Linked DNA regions of Homo sapiens: regions 1, 2, 3, 4, 6 and 7 are each linked to region 5. The links are contacts of gene promoters, found by promoter capture Hi-C in human tissues and cell types (Jung and others, 2019). All regions are on one chromosome and are shown on one strand. The core of a region is centred on a gene start or on the middle of the fragment in contact, and the rest is flanking DNA. Distances in the headings are between cores, read along the strand shown. Region 1 overlaps DOCK9 (dedicator of cytokinesis 9). Region 2 overlaps DOCK9 (dedicator of cytokinesis 9). Region 3 has its middle 13 kb from the start of LINC01039. Region 4 overlaps CLYBL (citramalyl-CoA lyase). Region 5 holds the start of GPR18 (G protein-coupled receptor 18). Region 6 overlaps DOCK9 (dedicator of cytokinesis 9). Region 7 overlaps TM9SF2 (transmembrane 9 superfamily member 2).

Region 1 (2,700 bases), core at 16-2,515, 440 kb before region 5:
GTAAAGTGGACATGAGCTAGCTCTAAAGGTTTAACCACCACGCTTGGATGAGACGTAAACAGTAATCCCTGAATATGTTCTGTTGATGTCTCTATCTCCTGGGATAGTCTATGGATATAAACACTTAATGCTTCTTACTGGCAACTATTCCTGAATAGAAACAATTTTGACGAATAGAAGCCAGAGACTGGCCTAGTTAAGTTCATATAATGTTTATTACATTCAGCAGCAATTCTGCAATGGCAAGACCTGCTGTTCTGTAAAACAACAGTTTTGTGTGCTAGATACAGTCAGTTCTCGTCATCTGAGGTAGTTATGTTCTATAAAGTCACTGTGAATTAGTGAATACTTGTCCGCTTCCTAGGGAAAATGCAAGGTTCAGTTCCTGGGAGCCTCTGGTTACAACATTTTCATTAACCAATCAATACCTACACTTGTTTTATGTGTTTTGTTTAAAGACATCTAACTAAATATATATTGTTGATTCATTAACATTAAATATATAGCCAACAGCACTAGAACTCACACTTGAACAAAGCTTATGTAACTTACACATGGCAGTGTTCTTGCACTTAGGAACCCCAGAAAGCCATTCTAAACAGCAAACCGCCAACAAAATCCACACAAATGTGAAAAACATGGCATAAAGTAGACCACCAAAAGGGGGCCTGTTCATGGTGTTACAGGAAAGGGGTCCCAATCCAGATCCCAAGAGAGGGTTCTTGGACCTAGTGTAAGAAAGAATTCAGGGCAAGTCCACAGTGCAAAGTAAAAGCAAGTTTATTAAGAAAGTAAAAAGTGGTCAAAGTACAGCTACTCCATAGACAGAGGAGGCTGTTCCTGAAAGTAAGAGGAGGAACACATCCATCCCAGGTACATTACTCGTATATATGGGGAGATGTGCTCTGCTATGAGGATCTGTGATAAAGGATTAATTTTCTTAATTACTGTATTTTGCAAAAATCGATATTATTAGCTTTAAAGAAAAATCAGGAACGCCTTTCTTCTCCAGATATTGAGATATCTAGACACTCTCAAGTCTGGGTCTGTCTAGTAAACATTATTAATTTGATCCCTTAACCATAAACATCTAGAGGCTCAGAATGCCTGACCTTCTGGGAAGGCAGCCCAGCAAGTCCCAGCCTCATTTTCCTAGCCCTCACTCAAGATGGAGTCAGTCTGGTTTGAACACCTCTGACAATGGGATGAGAGCTGCAACAAGAAGCAGAGTGTTGCCTGGTTCGGCCTCAGCTGGAAACATAGTTGAGTGGTAAAATCTTTTGATGCTCTGTACATATCCCTGAATGACCACAAAAGTACCAAGGAGTATTGATTTGGAGGCTACAAAGAAATTTCAGCAGATAGGTGGATAATGAGGATCACCTGTACTTTCTACTTTTCCCTCTGGAGCTCCTCTGGGCCCTGTTCTCCTGGGCTCTGCTCTGAGAAGCAGACACTGCAGGACTCGTGCATGGTGACTTCCTGTCTGGTTGCTGTTGAGTTTGGCCAAGGATAGGCCCCAGTAGGAGGCTGGGGGGCAGGAGGAGAGTGAGGTGGGCAGTTACTCCTTTCCTCCCTGCGTGGGTGCCCTCAGGAGTCCTTTACTAAAAAGCTCACAGGTCCTGCCAGGTGGTCCTTCTATGTAATTTCTCCCTTTCTCCCTAAGGTTAAGGGGTGACGCCCAGCTGCTGCTAACCTCGGGGCACTGCAACATCCCTTGTTGGCTTCCCTAAACCCTCTCTGAACTTTTAAAAACAGTTCCTTTCTTAGACTTTCTTCAATCTCCCAACTATGCTACCTGCATCCTTCCAGGACCTTGGTACTGCATTCGTTAACAAGGGAGGGATCTCAGAACTACATGGGCCATGGGGAATTTTGACACCACAGGAAACTCTGAATTCTTCAATCTACACAGGCTCAGTCTTGCAAAACAAAATTGTGAATAGGAATTGGAGGTTTCTCTTTATTAATCAAAAGCAGCTGGAAAGGAGTCTGCTCTTCGGCTCAGAATCAAGGAAGGTGGAATTGGTGCCAATAAAAACTCATCTGAGACCTGCTGCTAAGAGAATTGAGTATTTTTAGGTAGCGTCCCTTAAAGTCACTTTAGAGAACATCTCAGGCATTTAATTATATCTAATAATGTAGATGAAAAGGGCAATGATTTTTATTCAACTGTGTTATACACTTATCTCCCACCAGATTTTCCCCAAAGTCCTTCCTCTCTGGCAGAGATTTTCATCTCTCTTTTTCTTGCAACATCCTGGCAGCCAATGCAAAAACGTGCCTGGTAATTTCTGCTTTCCTGTCTTTTAGAACATGTTAGTCTTTCTGCTTCCCGTTAGTTTCAATCTGGATGTGCAAGGCTTGCTCAGGACTTTATAACCCTGCTGTGTCACATCCTAATCACCACAGATTGTCATGTACTATGGACCTTGTTAAAGATTTACTAAGTTTATGCTTCAAGGACAAGGTGACGAATCCGTCTTCTGAAAATAGCTGATAAAGGGGTCCTTGTCACAGGCTTAGTTATTACTTAGAGGGGACTCCATTCACAATTTCCCCAAGGCTGTCTGCACTTGATTTCACAGGCTAATTCATTAGGCTCTAACATAATAACTATCTCAGCCTGTTACTCAATCAGATGAGCAAATGCAAGCTTCATTTTATCAGCTCTGCAGGATAGGTCACTAAAAATAGTCT
Region 2 (2,700 bases), core at 134-2,633, 390 kb before region 5:
GTATAAGAGCAGTTTGTGCATAACAAACATGTAATTAAATAATAAACATACATGGCTCATTAAAATGTTATTACATGAGTTCATATATTCCTTTCCTGGTCATTAATGTCTATATACTCCATTAAAACCCAGTGGATTTAAGATAAACAAATTAATATATAACCTACTTATTCTGCTATCCCTGAATGAAGAACTTATTTAATGCAGTATTTCCTAAGCTATTCTCCTAATATTTCTCCACCTCTGAAAACAAATACAAATTTAATATAAACTAAAATTGAAGTGGACAAAGCATCAAACCAAACTGGTAAATCACCAGCAAGCTAAATGACAAAACTGAGAGCTCTTCTGGAAAACAGATAGGAGCAAACATGAACTCTACTTAGGAAGGGTACATAAAAACAGCTAAACATCACTCTGAAGATAAAATACAATTTCAGGAAGCTGAAGCTAGGTTGTGAATTGTCAGACTGACTCCATTATTAAAGGAAAGTCTATAGACCTCTCCCTTTGCCTTTTGTCCCCTATCAGACAGTTACTCCTAAATCTAGCCAAAATATGGGCCCAAGTTCTATGAAACCCTTTAATAGAAGGGGGAGAGTATTCATTTTCTAGATTATGTTCATTGTTTATGATTATTTCACCTAGTTTATCAAAACTATAAGTCATAGCTTGAGTTCACATGTCTCTTGGAAGAAACTACTTATGGTTTAACTGGGAGTGTGCTCACACATCTATGGTTGTGTGTATGAATGTGCATGAGAAATTACATGGTCTGGATGTGTGTCCCCTCTGAATCTCATGTTGAAATGTGATCCCCAGTGTTGGAGGTGGGGCCTGGTGGGAGGTGTTTGGGTCATGGGGGCGAATCCCTCATGAATGGCTTGGTGCCCTCCTTGCCATAATGAGTGAGTTCTCGCTTTGAGTTCATGCGAGATCTGGTTGTTTACGAGAGTGTGGCGCCTCACTCCTCGTCTCTTGCTCCCTCTCTCGCCATGTGACATGCTGGCTCCCCCCTTGCCCTCCACCATGATTGGAAGCTTCCTGAGGCCTCACCAGAAGCCAATGTTGGCGCCATGCTTCTTGTACAAACTGCAAAACTGTGAGCCAAAATAAATGTCTTTTCTTATTTTTTTTGAGAGAGGGTCTTGCTCTGTTGCTCAGGCTGGAGTGCCGTGGCATAATCTGCCTAGATTGCAGATTTCACTGCAATCTCTGCCTCCTGGGCTTAAGTCATCCTCCCACCTCAGCCTCCCATGTAGCTGAGGCTACAGATGTGTACCAACACATCAGGCTAATTTTTGTTTCTGTTTTTTTGTAGAGACAGGGTTTTGTTATGCTTCCCAGGATGATCTCGAACTCCTAGGCTCAAGTGATCCTCCCAGTTCAGCCTCCCAAAGTGCTGGGATTGTAAGTGCGAGCCACTGCACTGGCCCTCTTTTCTTTATAAATTACCCAGTCTCATGTATTCCTTTATAGCACACGAATAGACTAACACAAGAAAGGAGGTGAAGGCAGGGGTGGGAGGTAAGTGAGAAGAAAGAAAATGAAAATTCTAAAAAACATTTATTCCTGTCAGTGTAGTAAGGCAAATTACTCCCATATATCCCCCCATCGACTGAGCGAAGCCCGTCTTGCTACCAAATACCCTAGAAGTCTATAAGAGCTTGTGCTGCCCTGCTGGGTCATGGGGAGATGGGCATCAGCACACATTCACTACACAGCCACTGGGCAAAAAGAGCTCCCTGGGCTCTGTACCAGGTGGAAGGAAGGAGAGTCCCCAGGTACAGGAGACTGGGCTGAGGGAGGCTGTGGTGAGGTTGGGGGCACAGGGCAGGAAAGAGTGGTTAATTCCAGTTGAGGAAGTGGAAGAGAGTGAGGAGACCCTGGGAGGCCCCATGCAGGAGGTGTGGAGTGGCTGGCTTGGGGAGGAAGATGAGGATTCCCCAGGGAGGGGGCTATTTGAGGTGGAGGGGTGGCATGATATGTTTGAGGAGCTGGGAGTTGGCAGGGATGCCTGGAATGTGCAGAATAGGGGGGTGTGAGACCACAGAGGTGGGGGGCCAGGGTTAGATCAGGGGACACTGAATACCTATCTGTTCTCTCAGCCCAGAAAAAGTCTCCCCCAGATATGCGGGTGCTTGGCTCACCCCTCACTTTCTTCCAACTGTTATCTGGCCACCCTGTCTCAAATGTCACCCCTTTTCATATCCCCTTTCCTTGCTTTGTTTGTTCTCCTTAGGATGCATCAGTGTCTGACATTCTATGTATCTTGTGTATGTAGAATAGCCGGGGATTGTCATCCAGGTGTATGTAGAATAGCCGGGGATTGTCATCCAGGTTGTACACAACTTATTCTGAAGCTCGACACAGTTGGTGCGGGGTAAATATTTGTTGAATGCATGAATGCCAACTCCAGGGCCACAGTCCCCCTGCCTGATCCTTAAAAGGCAGTACCAGTCTGTTTGGGGGAAACAGACTGAATGAATGCCTTAGTGTGTTTCTCTCGGAATTCAGAAGCAGTTGATTCAGGTGCCATTAGCAGTTTGGTGGCATCCTTCCACTTTTTCTCTCCCTTAGCACAAAATACCTGAGTACATACAAGGAATTAAGCTCAAGAGCTATTGCTTGACAGACCTGACAGACTAATTTGTTCAATTTGATTTACTCAGTGAAGACAAAGACATCCCTATGAGCTCA
Region 3 (2,744 bases), core at 107-2,606, 330 kb after region 5:
TTGAATACCTGCTGAGTCAGGACTCTTGGTTTCAAGAGCCAAAAACCAAATTAAAATGCCCTTAATTAAAAAAATACACACATATTAGTTCAGGCAGCTGGGAAGTTCAATGAATGACACTATTTGATCAAAGAGTTCAAACAATATCAATAAGGGTCTCCCTCTCCTCTCTTTCTCCATTTCTCATCTTTGATTTTCTCTGTGTGAGCTTCATTCTCAGGCAATCTCTCTCCCCAGAGCAGCCTAGAAGATAATACTATCAGGCTTACCGTGATCTTACTACTCTTGATAGCAGAAGAAAAGACCCCTTTCTCACCAAACATTCATATCCATCTCCCCAAAATGGACTCTGATTGGCTGGTTGGGTCATGTGCCCATGCCTGGATCCGTCATGGTGGCACAGAAGTTGGTCATGTAAATTACAGACCCACCAACCAGCAGAGTGGCATTCTCAACAGGAAAGATGCTAAGAAGACCAAATGCCCACCGATGCCTACCTCACTACCCACCTACACAGTCCTCACAATCCTGAGGGCTGATACAGGGGTAGACACTGAGGCTTAGAGAGTTTAAGTTACTCAGAAAAGCCCCTCACCCTGTAAGATGTCAAGCCAGAATCAGCAGCCAGGTCTATTTGAAAACTACAGCCCTTTCCACTACACCACACTACCATTAGATTAAATTGTTGTCACTTCAAACCCGGGATGGCACAAACTAAACTTATTATTTTTCCTAAAATCATCTCCAAAGTTCAAATTCTCCAAAAGTTATCACCATTTCCTTCTTCTCCCAAGTGTGAAAATTTAGCCTTTTCCTTCTTTCTTGCAGCCAACCTTTTGTCTATCTCTTTCCTCTTCCCGTTCTTTCCCAAATCCACAATCTCCACACTTGTTTGTGGGTTCATTACCTGACATCTGGATCATGATCCTATCTGTTCCCTACTTCAGTCTATCCTATACATAGCCACATATTAAACTCCCTACAGTACAAGTGTTAAAAGAACTGGCCAGGTGCAGTGGCTCACTGCTGCAATCCCAGCACTTTGGGTGGCCAAAGCGGGTGGATCACTTGAGGTCAGGAATTCGAGACCAGCCTGGCCAACATGGCGAAACCCTGTCTCTACTAAAAATACCCATATTAGCTAGTTACGGTGGCATGTGCTTGTAATCCCAGCAACTTGGGAGGCAGAGGCTGGAGGATCGCTTGAACCTGGGAGGTGGAGGTTGCAGTGAGCTGAGATGGTGCCACTGCACTCCAGCCTGGGTGACAGAGTGAGACTCCATCTCAGAATAATAATAATAATATATTATTATATTTACTTGAAAGTATGTATTCATTTGTATTACCAAACAATGCAGCAATGTGGAGCATTCCAGAACTCAGGGGCTTAACACAATAGGTATTTACTACTGCTGATGCCTTCGTGAGTCTGCTGTAGTTTCGCTGACCTGGGCTGGGCTGGGCTGCAGGCTCCACAGCAGGCTGGGCAGCTGGGGCAGCTCTGTTTCACTGCAGGGCAACCTCCTCTCCATCACGGGTTCTGCTAGGATGTGCTCTTCTCACAGCGATGGCTGCAGGGCAAGAGGGCAAGGCTGCAGCTGGAGATGGCACACAGTCACTGGCAGAGCTCAAAGTTAAGGGACAAAAAAGGTATATTCTTCCCACAATGAGATCGTGACAAGGATGTGGAGGCAGACAAGAGGCAAGAATTGGAGCGTTCAATCCAATCCACCACAGGGAAAGTCAAGGCTGACCATTGTCTGGCCTCGCCACATCCATCCAACTCAAACCCCTCCCTTGGGGACTTCAGGTTGTCATGGATCTTGGGAATCTTACAGAAGCCGGGCAGGATTGGGCAGTTCCAGACAGTGAGCAATGTTCCAACAGTAGGCCCAGTTTCGCCTGGTCTCTGCTTTCCCACCACACGAGGAAGAGGGAGGGATTTTCTGGGCCCACTTGTTATTGGTAGTTTTTACAAAATAAGCAAATGTTAAACAATTTCTCCTCTAGCAAATAAACTGAGCCAGGGAGTCTCTTTGTGATTTTTTTTTTTTTTGGCTTTTTGGGGAAAAATATCTCTAGGAATTATTTTCTCTATAAACAATGGCAACAGTTTATTTTTGTTGGCTTGACTTGGATCCTCCCCCACTTCCTTTTTTTGGATTGAGAGGTTGGCTACAGAAATGAGAAAGAAATACTTTTTTATTCTTTTTTTGTGTGTGGTTTCTCTGGTTGGAAAATAAAAGCTCTGCATTCTTTCTGTATTCAGTGCACTTCAAAGTCATAAAAATTTGGATAAAGTACATCAGGGTTATGGGTGTTCTAGATTTCAGTCTTTTTATAACTTCCTCCTATTTCACATTCGTTTGACCTCAGGTTAAAGGAACGCTTTTGAAAAGTATAATGATTTGATCCTAGCAATGGATGTAGCAAAAATACTGGGGTCAATAAGTTGAATTAAAAGCCTTTTTATAAAGAAGAAGAAGAAAAAGAAGAAGCAAAAACTATATTTTGCAAACTTTAAGCTTAAGACTGCATGACAGTGGAAGAATTTCCCAGCTGTATTCTTATAAAGAATATATGCTGTGAAAATATTTTTCAAAGTTTACCAGAGCAAAAAAGTTTGAATTAAAGGAAACTAACTTCATAAACCTCTGAACTTATTTTCCCAGCTTACATAGGCACTTTCTGTAGATTGGTTTTTAGTATTTTTCCATATATATTTTGTTTCTTTTCTTTCCCAC
Region 4 (2,700 bases), core at 112-2,611, 360 kb after region 5:
GCACACATATACTTTGTACCACTTTGGAAGTAGTGCAGGCTTGTTTGAAAGCATACACTTGACTTGTCTTCTTACTTAGTCTCACAGTATTCTTTGTGAGAAGGTTGATATGCCCACATTATTCTGTGGCCAAAAACAAAAGTTTAGGAAATGAAAACAGCAAACAGAAAACCCCATGCCAAGTGCTGTTTTCGTAGTGAGGCACTGGAGGGCGCTCCGCTCTAGCAATGGGAGATGCACGCAGTCTCTGCAGTCTGCAGGCTGCCCTCACGAACGCCTTTCAGAAGATGTAAGAGTTTTTTCTGTTCATTTTAAGGCAAATGAAAGACACATGGATGGTAGAGGAAATATTTCTATACTGACCTATAAACGGTCCCTTTAAAAGTTTATGAGAAACTGAAGAAGTAGCTCTGTGCTCCAGCCCTCCTTATGACCTCCTCTCTCCCTAGCCTGTTGCAGCCTCACCGGCCTCCTCTTCTGGGCTGTGTCGTCAGCCTGAAGCCCTCTGTCCCTTTGTGCCTCAGCTCAAATGTCACAAATCAGAGAGGTCTTCCTTGACCACCCTGTACAACATAGCCTCCACCCCGCTAAGCAGCCTCTGCACTACCCTGTCCCCTTACTGCTGTTTTCATTTTTTCCTATTGCCCCATTTCCACCAGACATATCACATGCTTATTTGTTTATTGTCCGCCTGTATCCTACCCCAGCCCCCAGATATTCATGAGAGCAGGGACTTGGTTTATTCCATTGCTACTATATATCCAGAACCTAAAACAATCCTTGGCAGTGCCTGATATAAATTTGCAGAAGGAAAAAAGAACAGATTTAGGAATGAAATATTTTGAGTGTTTCTAAAGATTTAGTGGATTTTTTTTCTTTATTTTGGTAAATTATACATAACAAAATTATCATTTTAACTTTTTTTTTTTTGAGGTGGAGTCTAGCTCTGCCCCCAGGCTGGAGTGCAGTGGTGCGATCTCACTCACTGCAACCTCTGCCTCCTGGGTTCAAGCAACTCTCCTGCCTCTGCCTCCGAGTAGCTGGGATTACAGGTGCCCGCCACCACGCCTGGCTAATTTTTTGTATTTTTAGTAGAGACGGGGTTTCACCATGTTGGCCAGGCTGGTCTCGAACTCCTGACCTCAGGTGATCTACCCGCCTCGGCCTCCCAAAGTGCTGGGATTACAGGCGTGAGCCACCATGGCCGGCCCATTTTAACCATCTTTAAGTGTACAGTTTAGTGGCATTAAGTACATTCACATTGTTGTACAACTGTCACCACCATCCATCTTCAGAACTTTTTTATCTTCCCACACTGAAACCCTGTGCCCATTAAACACTAACTCCCTGTTCCCTTCCCCCCACCCAGCCCCTGGTAACCACCATTCTCATTATTTTCACTGTGAATTTGACTACTCTAGGTACTTCACATACATAGACTCACATATTTGTCCTTTTGTGTTTGGCTTATTTCACTCAGCATAATATCTTCCAAGGTGCATCCATGTTACAGCAGGTATCTGATTTTCATTCATTTTTAAGGCTGAATAATCTATTGTGTGCCTATTCCATATTTTATTTATCCATCCATCTGTTGATGGACATTTGAGTATCACTGCCACCTTTTGGCTATTGTTAGTGCATGTTCTATGTGGAGCACAGAAATGTGATGTTTAAGTTTAAGCCTAAAGTGGATTTCTTTGAATTATACTAGCCAGTCACAGATCACTCCTGGGTAGTACTATGGTTTGAATGTGGTATCCCCTCCAAAATTCATGTTGAAACTTAATTCCCATTGTGGTGGTATTAAGAAGTGGGGCCTTGTAGGAAGTGGTTAAGTCATGAGGGCTGTGCCTCATGAATGGGTTAGTATCATTGGAAAGAGGCTTCAGAGAGAGTTTTCCAGTCTTGCCCTTCCACCCTGCGCCATGTGAGGACACAGCAATAAGGCGCCATATTGGAAGCAGAGAGCAGCCCTCTGTAGACACCAAGGCTGGCACCTTGATCTTAGATTCCCCAGCCTCCAGAACTGTGGGAAGTAAGTTTCTGTTGTTTATAAATTAGCCCAGTGTGTAATACTTTTTAAAATAGCAGCATAAACAGACTAAGACAGGTGGTTTCTACTTTTAGGAAAATATTTTTAGTTCATATTAAGATAGAAACTTATTCTAGCTCCTAAAAATCAGAATTGTTTTAATATCCTCAGGTGCTCTTTAATTTTTTCTTACAATTGTCAAAAACAAGTTTAAAATCAAGTTACTAACTCTGCTATAGGCAGGAAGCTCCTGGATAGATACTCTGGGGTTCAAGTCCAATGCTGACCCGCAGTTGGCCCTTGACCTTGTTCAAGGCCCTTATCTAGATTGTGCCTTATTTTTCTCACCCATCAAAAGGAGGATGGACAAGTTTCTTCCTGCCAGTTGACATTCCAGAGTCTAGAAAGGAATTATTGCCCTCAAGTAAGACGACCTTGGGGAATTCAGAAATAAAAAGTATATAGCTTTTTGAGCTCTAAGTTATTTTGGTCCATTTGAGCTCAATTTGACCAGAGATTGAAGATAAAAGCTCTGCCTCCCCCAAACTTATTGGTACAGCCTGCACTCAATTGGTTTTACCGCCTTCTCCTGACATTAAGGGAGATGTTTTTGGTTGTGTGGTGTTGACCCTTTAGGTCCTCAGAAGGGGCGGCACCCTCATGGT
Region 5 (2,700 bases), core at 144-2,643:
GTCTGTGGTCAGTGGCATCACGGGCTATTGATAATTAAGAATTAACTTGAGCAATTGCTGTGGTTAAACACAAGAAACGTGCCTGTCTGCCTTCCTTCCTTTCCCTTCCCTTCCCTTCCCTTTCTTCCCTTCTTCTCCTTCTTTCCTTCTCAAATATTTAGGTTAAATATGATTTAGGAGCATAATTCTATATATTTAAAAACATATTAAATTTTCCAAATATTGGTGTGACTAGAATATTAATTTCTATCAAATGAGGAAAGTGCTACAGAGAAAAATTATATCTCTAGTGTCATTCAAAGGAGAGTAATCTTGGAGGCTTAAATCTTATTTTTAACTGGAATGCATTCTTATTAAATAGTAGCAATTATAATATAAATGAAATTTTGTATTTGTTTTTCTTTTTTTAGTATTGCATCAGGACTCCCTTCACCTATCCTCATCCTTCAATTTTGTGACATAAGTCCTGTACTTACAAACCATCTTGAGTCTTTTTTCCCACGTTATGCTCAAGCTGTTTTTATGTAGCTTGTCACCAATACTTATATTCATTTGCTGACGTTTGAAAAAAAATGAGTGATGCATGTGTTTTAAAGGCATTATAGTATTGATTGTGCTCTGCAAACACAGAAATTTTTGGATAAATATTGAAAAGTGATTGACTTTAAAGTCAGCTTTTTAAAAGCTATAGATACCATGATTATCTGTAGCTTTTCTTTTCTTAAAAACCATTAAGTTATTTCATGAAACAATGTAATTGAAAACATGTGATGAACATTCCTAAATATACATATGATTTACCATAAACATTTTCTTTCCTTAAGTTGAAAAAAATTACATTTAGTATTAATGTAAAGCAATATTGAAAATAAATGTAAAATCATATTAATGTGGAAAGATGATTATATAGCCTATTTCAAGGTCTTTCACCAACATAGTTTGTTATGTTTATTTTTTTAATTAAATATATTTTTTTAATAGAGACGGGGTCTCACTATGGTGCTCCTGGGCACAACTGATCCTCCTGCCTTGGCCTCCCAAAGTGTTGGAGTTACAGGCGTGGGCCATTGCGCCCAGCCTGTATTATTAAAATGAAATGATTTTTGAAATGCAGTACATAAAGCATTACTTTTGACAATAATCATGAAGTTAATTAAATGCTGCTTACCTCCTGTCCATCAAAAGTCTGTGTGAGAGATGAGCATTTTTCAGCACTTCCACTTCTGTCGAAGGGATATCTTTGAGTTGCTTCTGTTAAAATAGCTCTTTCTGGAAACAGTGTATTTAAGAAATGTTGTATTTTGTTTTAGACTCTTTTGTTGCTTTAAAAAGTAGTTTCCAGTGTAACGCTTGGCGTCGGAGTTGGTGCTGGGCTGACTTTAATTGCTGCTTTGTCTCTTTCAGGAAGTGCTCTCTGAAATAGGCTTTTTCACCTTATGACTTTACCCTGGATGTGGTTTTTCTCTTTCACAAATGATTTGTTTATGAAGTCACACTTAGCATAAGCTCCCCTTGAAATGATGGCATATATTTAAGATAATTATATACAAAGGATAAAGTTTCTTCAGTTTGTGTACTTTGATGCTTGAAGTCTGCATCATCTATGGAAAGAGAAGATTTGATATTGAGTAAAAGGGGGTTTAAAGTCTAGCTTCTTTGCTTTATAAGCTATGTGACTTTGTCTAGTTACCTACCCACTCTGACTAACCCTTTGTTCCTACTTCATTTCTGTACAGTTGAAATAGAGATAATACTATATCCAGTAGGATTGTAGGGGCCCTAAACCAGAAAGATCCCAAGTGCTTAATAGTACCTGGCACTTAGTAGGTACTCCTAAATGGAGTCTCACTTTTTACTACCAAGTTATTAAAAATCATAGAATATCCACATTTCCACTTTTTACTATTTAAACATTTCTAAATGCTTAAAAGTAGGATCCTTGATTAATTGCTTCTGCTTTGCCACATACATTTATCCACTTTAGTTTGCTGTATTTTGTAAGTCTGCTTTTCTAGTGCGTGGAAGTCTAGAAATAATTTCTTTTGCATAAAAATTTCTGCAAATCTTAGCAGAAAGGACTCTGAAGTCTTTAGTGGACTGATTTACATATTAAGAGTGTTTTCACCTAAGAAGGGAAATGAAACCAGCAGAAAGGGAAGTGAGCAACGAATCGCTGCCTGCCTTGTTAGGTTAATTTTGTTTTACTTTCTCATTTCTTAAAAAAAATTATCTCTCATTTGCTTATCCTAAAATTTTAATTATCTTTATGTTTGGTTATGCATGGTTTGTCAACTTTTTAAAGGGTTCATGAACTTAAATGTATTTGTTTTTTTGAATTTTAGACAGTTTGGGGTCCATCCTTTTTTTTTTTTTTCTCAGACAAAACCATAGTAAATCTGTGGCTTAGAAAAGTTACTTAAATCCTTGCCTTTGGTGATAAAATACTTTTGATTGTTACAACCTGCCAGAATGATGGGTTTTAGAAGTGTTGGAGACAACCATAGCAACTATTTCTTGTGTGGATGAAGAAATTGAAGGCCAGTTACTTGCTTAAGAACTCAAGGTAAAGCCAGGTCCAGTTTCTCCCGCTGTAATAACTTCTTATGAGGTAATTATATTGATCTGTCCACTAGATAGGACTTCTTATGGCTGAATCACATTCATCAGTTTTTTATATGTGATGTTATATTTCATTCATCA
Region 6 (2,700 bases), core at 152-2,651, 340 kb before region 5:
ATCCTTTATGAATCCCAAAAGGTATTTGGACTCCCTGTCCGTGGCCTTGCCTCATGCCTCCAGTTTTCATGCCTGCAAGAGGGTGACTGGCTCACAGAACAAGAACAGTAGTCCATGTGCAGTAACAGACGGAAGATGAACATGCACTAGGCCAGGATTTCTCAATCTCGGTACTACTGACACTTGGGCAGCCAATTCTTTGTTGTGAGTGGCTGGTCCATGCATTGTACAATGTTTAGCGAAATTTATGGCCTTAAGCCAATAGATGCCAGTCTTCAGACATTCCAAGATGTCCTCCAGGGAGCAAAATCTCCCCAGGTTGGCCGCAGTAGACAGAGGTTCAGCTCTGAGGATCATGGCACAAGATCCCCTGTAAGGACAGGCTGAGCGATATGAAATCAAACACTCCCACTAACCTGAGCCAGCAGGACAGCCCCCCGCATAGCCACTAAAATCCTACTGGGTTATCCACACTCTCTCTAAGAGTTCCTTGGTGGAGGTCTCAGGGACAGGGCAACCCTCCCAAAAGTCTCTGTGATTCTGCAGCACAGTTCTTAGAAATGCAAAGTCAAGTGCTCCCCTTGGCAAAGCCACACACTCTTGTGCACAGACTGTCTGCTGTGGGCTCAGTAATTGCCACTTTGGATTCCACTTAAACTTCAAGGCAAGAACCAGGGAAGAAGTCAAAGGCTTGAAACAAAATGAATTTTCTCTCCTCCTTTCCCTGCATACTCACAATCATGAAAAGAGAAAGTTAAAAGTGGAGAAAAAAACATTAGGCCTCAATTCTAAATTTCTGTTTCTGAGCCTCAGTTTTCTCATCTGCAAAATAAGTATAATAAATTTCAAGGGTTCTAAAATGCTTCAAAATTTTTTAGTTTAGGCACTTTTTTTAATTCACAGCACCAGTCAACTAATTTTTTTATAATATCCATAAGTAATAATTTTTAAAAACACTTAAATCACAACTTTTGATGCTTAGTTTACAAACAGACACAGATAAAAACAAATTATTTTACTCTTTTGAAGCCTTGGATACACTTTATTAAATGAAAACACCATCAGCTGCATCTGCAAAGACAATTTGAAGGAAGAGACTTCCATTGAAGTCAGAACCTTAGATTTTGAAATGCACCCCGGAGACTAATTGATAGCTCAGGGCAGTTGTACTTATAAACATCTGTCCCTGGGCCAGAAACAGGCAGCAAAACTCTCTTATAAAACAAAAATAATTACTTCCTACTTTAAAAAATGAGGTTGCCAAATACATTTAGTTTTGCTTTAACCTTCTTTTTAAAGTCAGTGCCAGAAAATTCAGCTAAAAAGTAACTTAAAGGTCTTTTGACTAAAGAATACAAATAAAACTCCTACTTGGGAATCCCACCCAAGAAGTCAATTCACTGTCACTGATAAATCACTCTGGCACTCCTTACTTCACAGACATTGTCAATGAACATACTCTGATATAATTAGATTGTTCATAGTGGTGGCCTTCAGAGAAGGCTGAATTGCCAGCTAAGAGACATCCACATTAGCTGTTGACTGAAAACAATTTTCAGTGAGCATTAAGTGGTGCTACAGTCTTGAACGTGGGCCCAAATATACTTTCATGTATTTTACCTTTTTTTTTCTTTTTTTTTTTTTCGGCAGGGCGGGGGTACTGCACAGTGGTATTTTGTTTGTTTGCTTTTTGTATCCTCTCAAATTACCTGTTGGTGTTTTTTATTTATTTTTCAAAGTGGTTTTTAAAGTTAGTTACCAATAACTAAAGTTACCAAAGTTTAACTCAAATTCTGTATTTCTTGCTTTTTGAGAAACCAGATGATCTGGCACCTTTGAGCCGGGGGTTCCACCTGGCGGCACCAGCTGCAGGTGGGCAGGAGATGCCCCCTTTAAATGGGGCACTGGGCTCCAGGTCACCCCGGCATTCCCTATTGCTTTGCAACCAGGCCTCTCTGTCACTTAATTGACCTCCTTGGTCCCTGCAGACATCTGATTCTGGACCCCTCCCTTCCACTGCTGACCATAAGGAAGAAACAGGATCTGGACTTAGCCTCCCACCATCATTGCTAGAAAAGTGGACAAAATACATGAAATAACTGTTTTCAGATAGGGGACAAAAGGCAGTGCAGCCCTTTCTCTGTAGAAGGGAAAGACTGAAGTGAGCCCCAAATTGCCTCAGCTTTCTGCCTGGAGGCAGTATCTGAATTGCAGCACAGGAAGGGGAATCCAAAAAGAGCCCTGCCATCTTGCTGAGTAGAAGACACTGACGAGACCTGGGGAAGACCAAGGTGGCCAGAATATGCAGGGCAGAGTCTCCAGAATGACGGGAAATAAAACAGCACAAAGATAAGAAAGAGCCGAGCTCCAGAAAGATCCACCGAGTCACACATGCATTAGGCATATATTTTCTATTTATATGTTATACCTTATTTTCTATTTATATGTTATAACTTAACAAAAAAGCTTACCAAAGCATAAAATAAAAATCAAGACACAACAACCAAAATTTTAGAACACTAAAGAGAAGACCACAAAGAACAGGGATTTCGAATAACATCAGAACCTTCCAAACGACAGTGGAAACTAGATGGCAATGGGATGCCCTTGAAATTCCAAGGTAAAATGATTTCACTTTGAATTTTATAACTAGCCAAACTATGAGTCAAGCATGAATGCAAAAATTAAGATATGAACAGA
Region 7 (2,928 bases), core at 210-2,709, 310 kb after region 5:
AATCAGATACTGTCATTAAACTTACAACTAAAATTACTAGCTGTCACTTATATGATATTGCTGGGTTCTTACTGAATAATTTTTTTTTTTTTTTGAGACAGAGTTTCCTTCTTGTTGCCCAGGCTGGAGTGCAATGGCGAGATCTCGGCTCACCACAACCTCCGCCTCCCAGGTTCAAGCAATTCTCCTGCCTCAGCCTCCTGAGTAGCTGGGATTACAGGCATGTGCCACCACGCCCGGCTAATTTTGTATTTTTAGTAGAGACGGCATTTCTCCATGTTGGTCACACTGGTTTCAAACTCCTGACCTCAGGTGATCTGCCCGCCTCGGCCTCCCAAAGTGCTGGGATTACAGGTGTGAGCCACTGCGCCCAGCCTTACTGAATAATTTTATGTCACTGTCCTTTTTTAAAAAAACGGACCTGTTGGTTTTGAAGAGTAAAGGAGGAGCTCTGTTCATTTTTAACATGGAATATTTAAGATAGAAGAGTTTCTTTCAGTTTTATGTATCTCTTGTATTTATTTTTTATGGGTAGAGTTGTCCCTTAGTATTTATGGGAGATTGGTTCCAGAACCCTTGTGGTTACCAAAAATCCATGGATGCTCAAGTCCTTGATATAAAAATGGCAAGTATTTGCAAATAATCTATGTACATCCTCCCATGTGCTTTAAATCATCTCTAGTTTACTCACAATACCTCATACAATGTAAGTGCTCTGTAAATACTTGTTATACTCTATTTTCCATTTGTATTTTTATTGTATTGGTTTTTTAAAATTTATTTTCGAGCATTTTTGATCTGTTGTTGCTTAAATCTGCATATGCAGAACCCCCAGATAAGGAAGGCCAACTGTAATTCTCTTAGGGAGCTGTTGAGATAGGCTGGTTGACTCAACAAAGAGAAGGTTTTAGTTTTTAAAAATCCTGATTGAGACACCAGATTAGTTTTTATTGGCCAAAGTTAAGTTTCTTCAATTTTATTTTTCCTTTAGTGAACAGTTAGCTTAGTGATTTAAAAGTCAGCTGATAGAGTTGGTGTAACTTTTTCTTCGTTTTGTTTTGTTTTGTTTGTGAGACAGAGTTTCACTCTTGTTGCCCAGGCTGGAGTGCAATGGCACTATCTCAGTTCACTGCAACCTCCGCCTCGTGGGTTCGAGCGATTCTCCGGCCTCAGCCTCTGGAGCAGCTGGGATTATAGACACCCGCCACTGCGCCCAGCTAATTTTTTGTATTTTTAGTAGATACGGGGTTTCACCATGTTGGCCAGGCTGGTCTCGAACTCCTGACCTCAAGTGATCCACCCCCCCACCCCGCCGCAACCTCGGCCTCCCAAAGTGCTGGGATTACAGGCGTGAGCCACCGCGTCCGGCCTTTTTCTTCATATATTTAAGTAACCGTATTTCACACGTAAACAGTGGAGAGGCAGTTGGGAAAATGAAATTGGAGTGATAAAGGAAAAGACTTAGGAGGGAGGGAGGGTGGAAAGCCGAGGAAGGAGACAGTGACAAGGAAGGCCTGCCAAGTGAGGAGGGCGGTGGAGAAAAGACCCCTCTCCAGGGCTTGGATCCCGCCGTCCTGAGGGGTGCGCTGCTGCGGCTTTCCCAGAAAGTTCTCCAGGAAAGCGTCCCTCAGCATGGCAGGCGGTTAGAAGCAGGGGTCCGTCTCCTTAGCTTGAGTGTGGCCCGGGACAGAAACAGTTGCGTTGCGCATGTTGTGAGACCCCAGTGACCAGGAACCCCGGGGAGAAGTCTCCTCCATGAGTCATGATAGCCGCAGGCAGCTGCGAAGGAGGGGGACGTGTAGCCAAGACCGGGAAGCTAGGTAACTGCAGTGTTTTCCTGCTGGAGAAATGGCCTTTTGCCATTCCCATGCCTTCTATCTGCCCAGGTCATTTCTAGAGACCCAGCCGTGCCGCAGGGTCGTCCTGCTCGCCGGCTAAGGGCGGCATTCTGTCTGCATTTGCCTCCTTGCCCCGCACATCAAGAAGGCCGCCCAAGCTTTCGGGCAGCGCCGTAGCCCCTTGGTGTCTCCCACAGTTTCTCCAACTGTACCTTCACCTCGAACCTAGTTACAGCCTCACCCCGCCTTCTTCCTGTCTGTTCGAGAGTCTTTCCTCTTTATTTTCCCTTCTGTGTTTAAACCCTCCCTCTCCATGCTTTCCATTTTAAAACACGTCCAACTTTCTGCTAGTTGTTGTTTTTTTTTTTTTTTTTCATTTTTAGTGAAAACAACCCGTCTGACCGATTTCTCCCTCTTCTCCTTGCCTCTCCCACCTGGCTTTGCCATCGGCTTCTTGTTTTCCGAGGATTCTGCTGGTAACCTTGTTGCCGAGCTCCTCAGCGCCCCCACCACCTGGTCCAGCCCTAATTTTACCAGCTCTTTACTGACACGACACTCAGTCTCTCTTGGAAACCTTGTCCTGAAAGCCGTGTTCCTCATAGTCTGGGTCTGAACCTTCCTCATAGAATCGCAAGAAGATTGTCACAAACATGTGCTTGCCCTGCACGTGTTCTGGAGAAGTGCGTTAAAACAGGAGACGCTGCTTACCCACTTCTCTTCCCCTCAATTCCGCCTCTGTCAGTCTCCTCTGGGGGCTCCACTTCTGCCCCCAGCGGGAGTTGCTGCCCTATTCCATCTTTCCCTCTTTGACCTACTTCTCACTTGGTGTTCTCTGTCCAGTTTCACTCTCGTGTTTAGAGTCAGCGCCTCCATCTCCACTCACAGCACCTGCTTGCTGCACAGCCTGCGTGGTCCTCGGGAACACTAAGCTCATGGTGTACAAAAGTGAGCGCACCTGCCCTCCGTCCCCAGCTGCCGCTCCCCCAGAGGCCCCGTCTCCGGTGGGGCCGTCAGCTGCTTCATCCCCTGAGCGGAGCTTCACAGGTCCCCTGGGTGCCCCTTTCAGTCGGTCACCGAGTATCCTCCAAGT

The links. Contacts are between HindIII fragments. The study calls those that stand out against the background at their distance.
Region 1: a contact is called between a fragment that was not itself captured here and the fragment with the promoter of GPR18 in region 5, in 1 of the 25 tissues and cell types used here (dorsolateral prefrontal cortex).
Region 2: a fragment that was not itself captured here is called in contact with the fragment with the promoter of GPR18 in region 5 in 1 of the 25 tissues and cell types used here (lymphoblastoid cells).
Region 3: a fragment that was not itself captured here is called in contact with the fragment with the promoter of GPR18 in region 5 in 2 of the 25 tissues and cell types used here (IMR-90 fibroblasts and spleen).
Region 4: a contact is called between a fragment that was not itself captured here and the fragment with the promoter of GPR18 in region 5, in 1 of the 25 tissues and cell types used here (spleen).
Region 6: a contact is called between a fragment that was not itself captured here and the fragment with the promoter of GPR18 in region 5, in 1 of the 25 tissues and cell types used here (hippocampus).
Region 7: a fragment that was not itself captured here is called in contact with the fragment with the promoter of GPR18 in region 5 in 3 of the 25 tissues and cell types used here (IMR-90 fibroblasts, lymphoblastoid cells and spleen).

The regions. Positions count from the first base shown.
Region 1 is chr13:98,819,725-98,822,424 of GRCh38, forward strand. All of the region lies in intron 45 of DOCK9 (dedicator of cytokinesis 9), which reads right to left. Among named protein-coding and RNA genes, the nearest start is that of DOCK9-AS1, 11 kb to the right of the region's middle. RefSeq lists an enhancer at 1,122-1,622. The HindIII fragment of the contact is 3,995 bases long and covers 1-2,700 here.
Region 2 is chr13:98,863,936-98,866,635 of GRCh38, forward strand. All of the region lies in intron 30 of DOCK9 (dedicator of cytokinesis 9), which reads right to left. Among named protein-coding and RNA genes, the nearest start is that of DOCK9-AS1, 33 kb to the left of the region's middle. The HindIII fragment of the contact is 7,603 bases long and covers 1-2,700 here.
Region 3 is chr13:99,588,726-99,591,469 of GRCh38, forward strand. No RefSeq gene overlaps it. Among named protein-coding and RNA genes, the nearest start is that of LINC01039, 13 kb to the left of the region's middle. The HindIII fragment of the contact is 4,544 bases long and covers 1-2,744 here.
Region 4 is chr13:99,617,360-99,620,059 of GRCh38, forward strand. The region is part of intron 1 of CLYBL (citramalyl-CoA lyase); the gene reads left to right. Among named protein-coding and RNA genes, the nearest start is that of CLYBL, 12 kb to the left of the region's middle. The HindIII fragment of the contact is 4,667 bases long and covers 1-2,700 here.
Region 5 is chr13:99,256,986-99,259,685 of GRCh38, forward strand. GPR18 (G protein-coupled receptor 18) reads right to left here and starts at 1,394. Exons shown (of 2, transcript NM_001098200.2): 1 at 1,169-1,394. All of the region lies in intron 4 of UBAC2 (UBA domain containing 2), which reads left to right. LOC124903198 (a long non-coding RNA gene) reads right to left here. Exons shown (of 3, transcript XR_007063846.1): 3 at 1,454-1,601. The HindIII fragment of the contact is 6,968 bases long and covers 1,381-2,700 here.
Region 6 is chr13:98,916,014-98,918,713 of GRCh38, forward strand. All of the region lies in intron 7 of DOCK9 (dedicator of cytokinesis 9), which reads right to left. Among named protein-coding and RNA genes, the nearest start is that of DOCK9, 61 kb to the right of the region's middle. The HindIII fragment of the contact is 4,018 bases long and covers 1-2,700 here.
Region 7 is chr13:99,563,971-99,566,898 of GRCh38, forward strand. It overlaps TM9SF2 (transmembrane 9 superfamily member 2), which reads left to right. Exons shown (of 17, transcript NM_004800.3): 17 at 1-78. Among named protein-coding and RNA genes, the nearest start is that of LINC01039, 12 kb to the right of the region's middle. RefSeq lists an enhancer at 2,873-2,928. The HindIII fragment of the contact is 8,417 bases long and covers 1-2,928 here.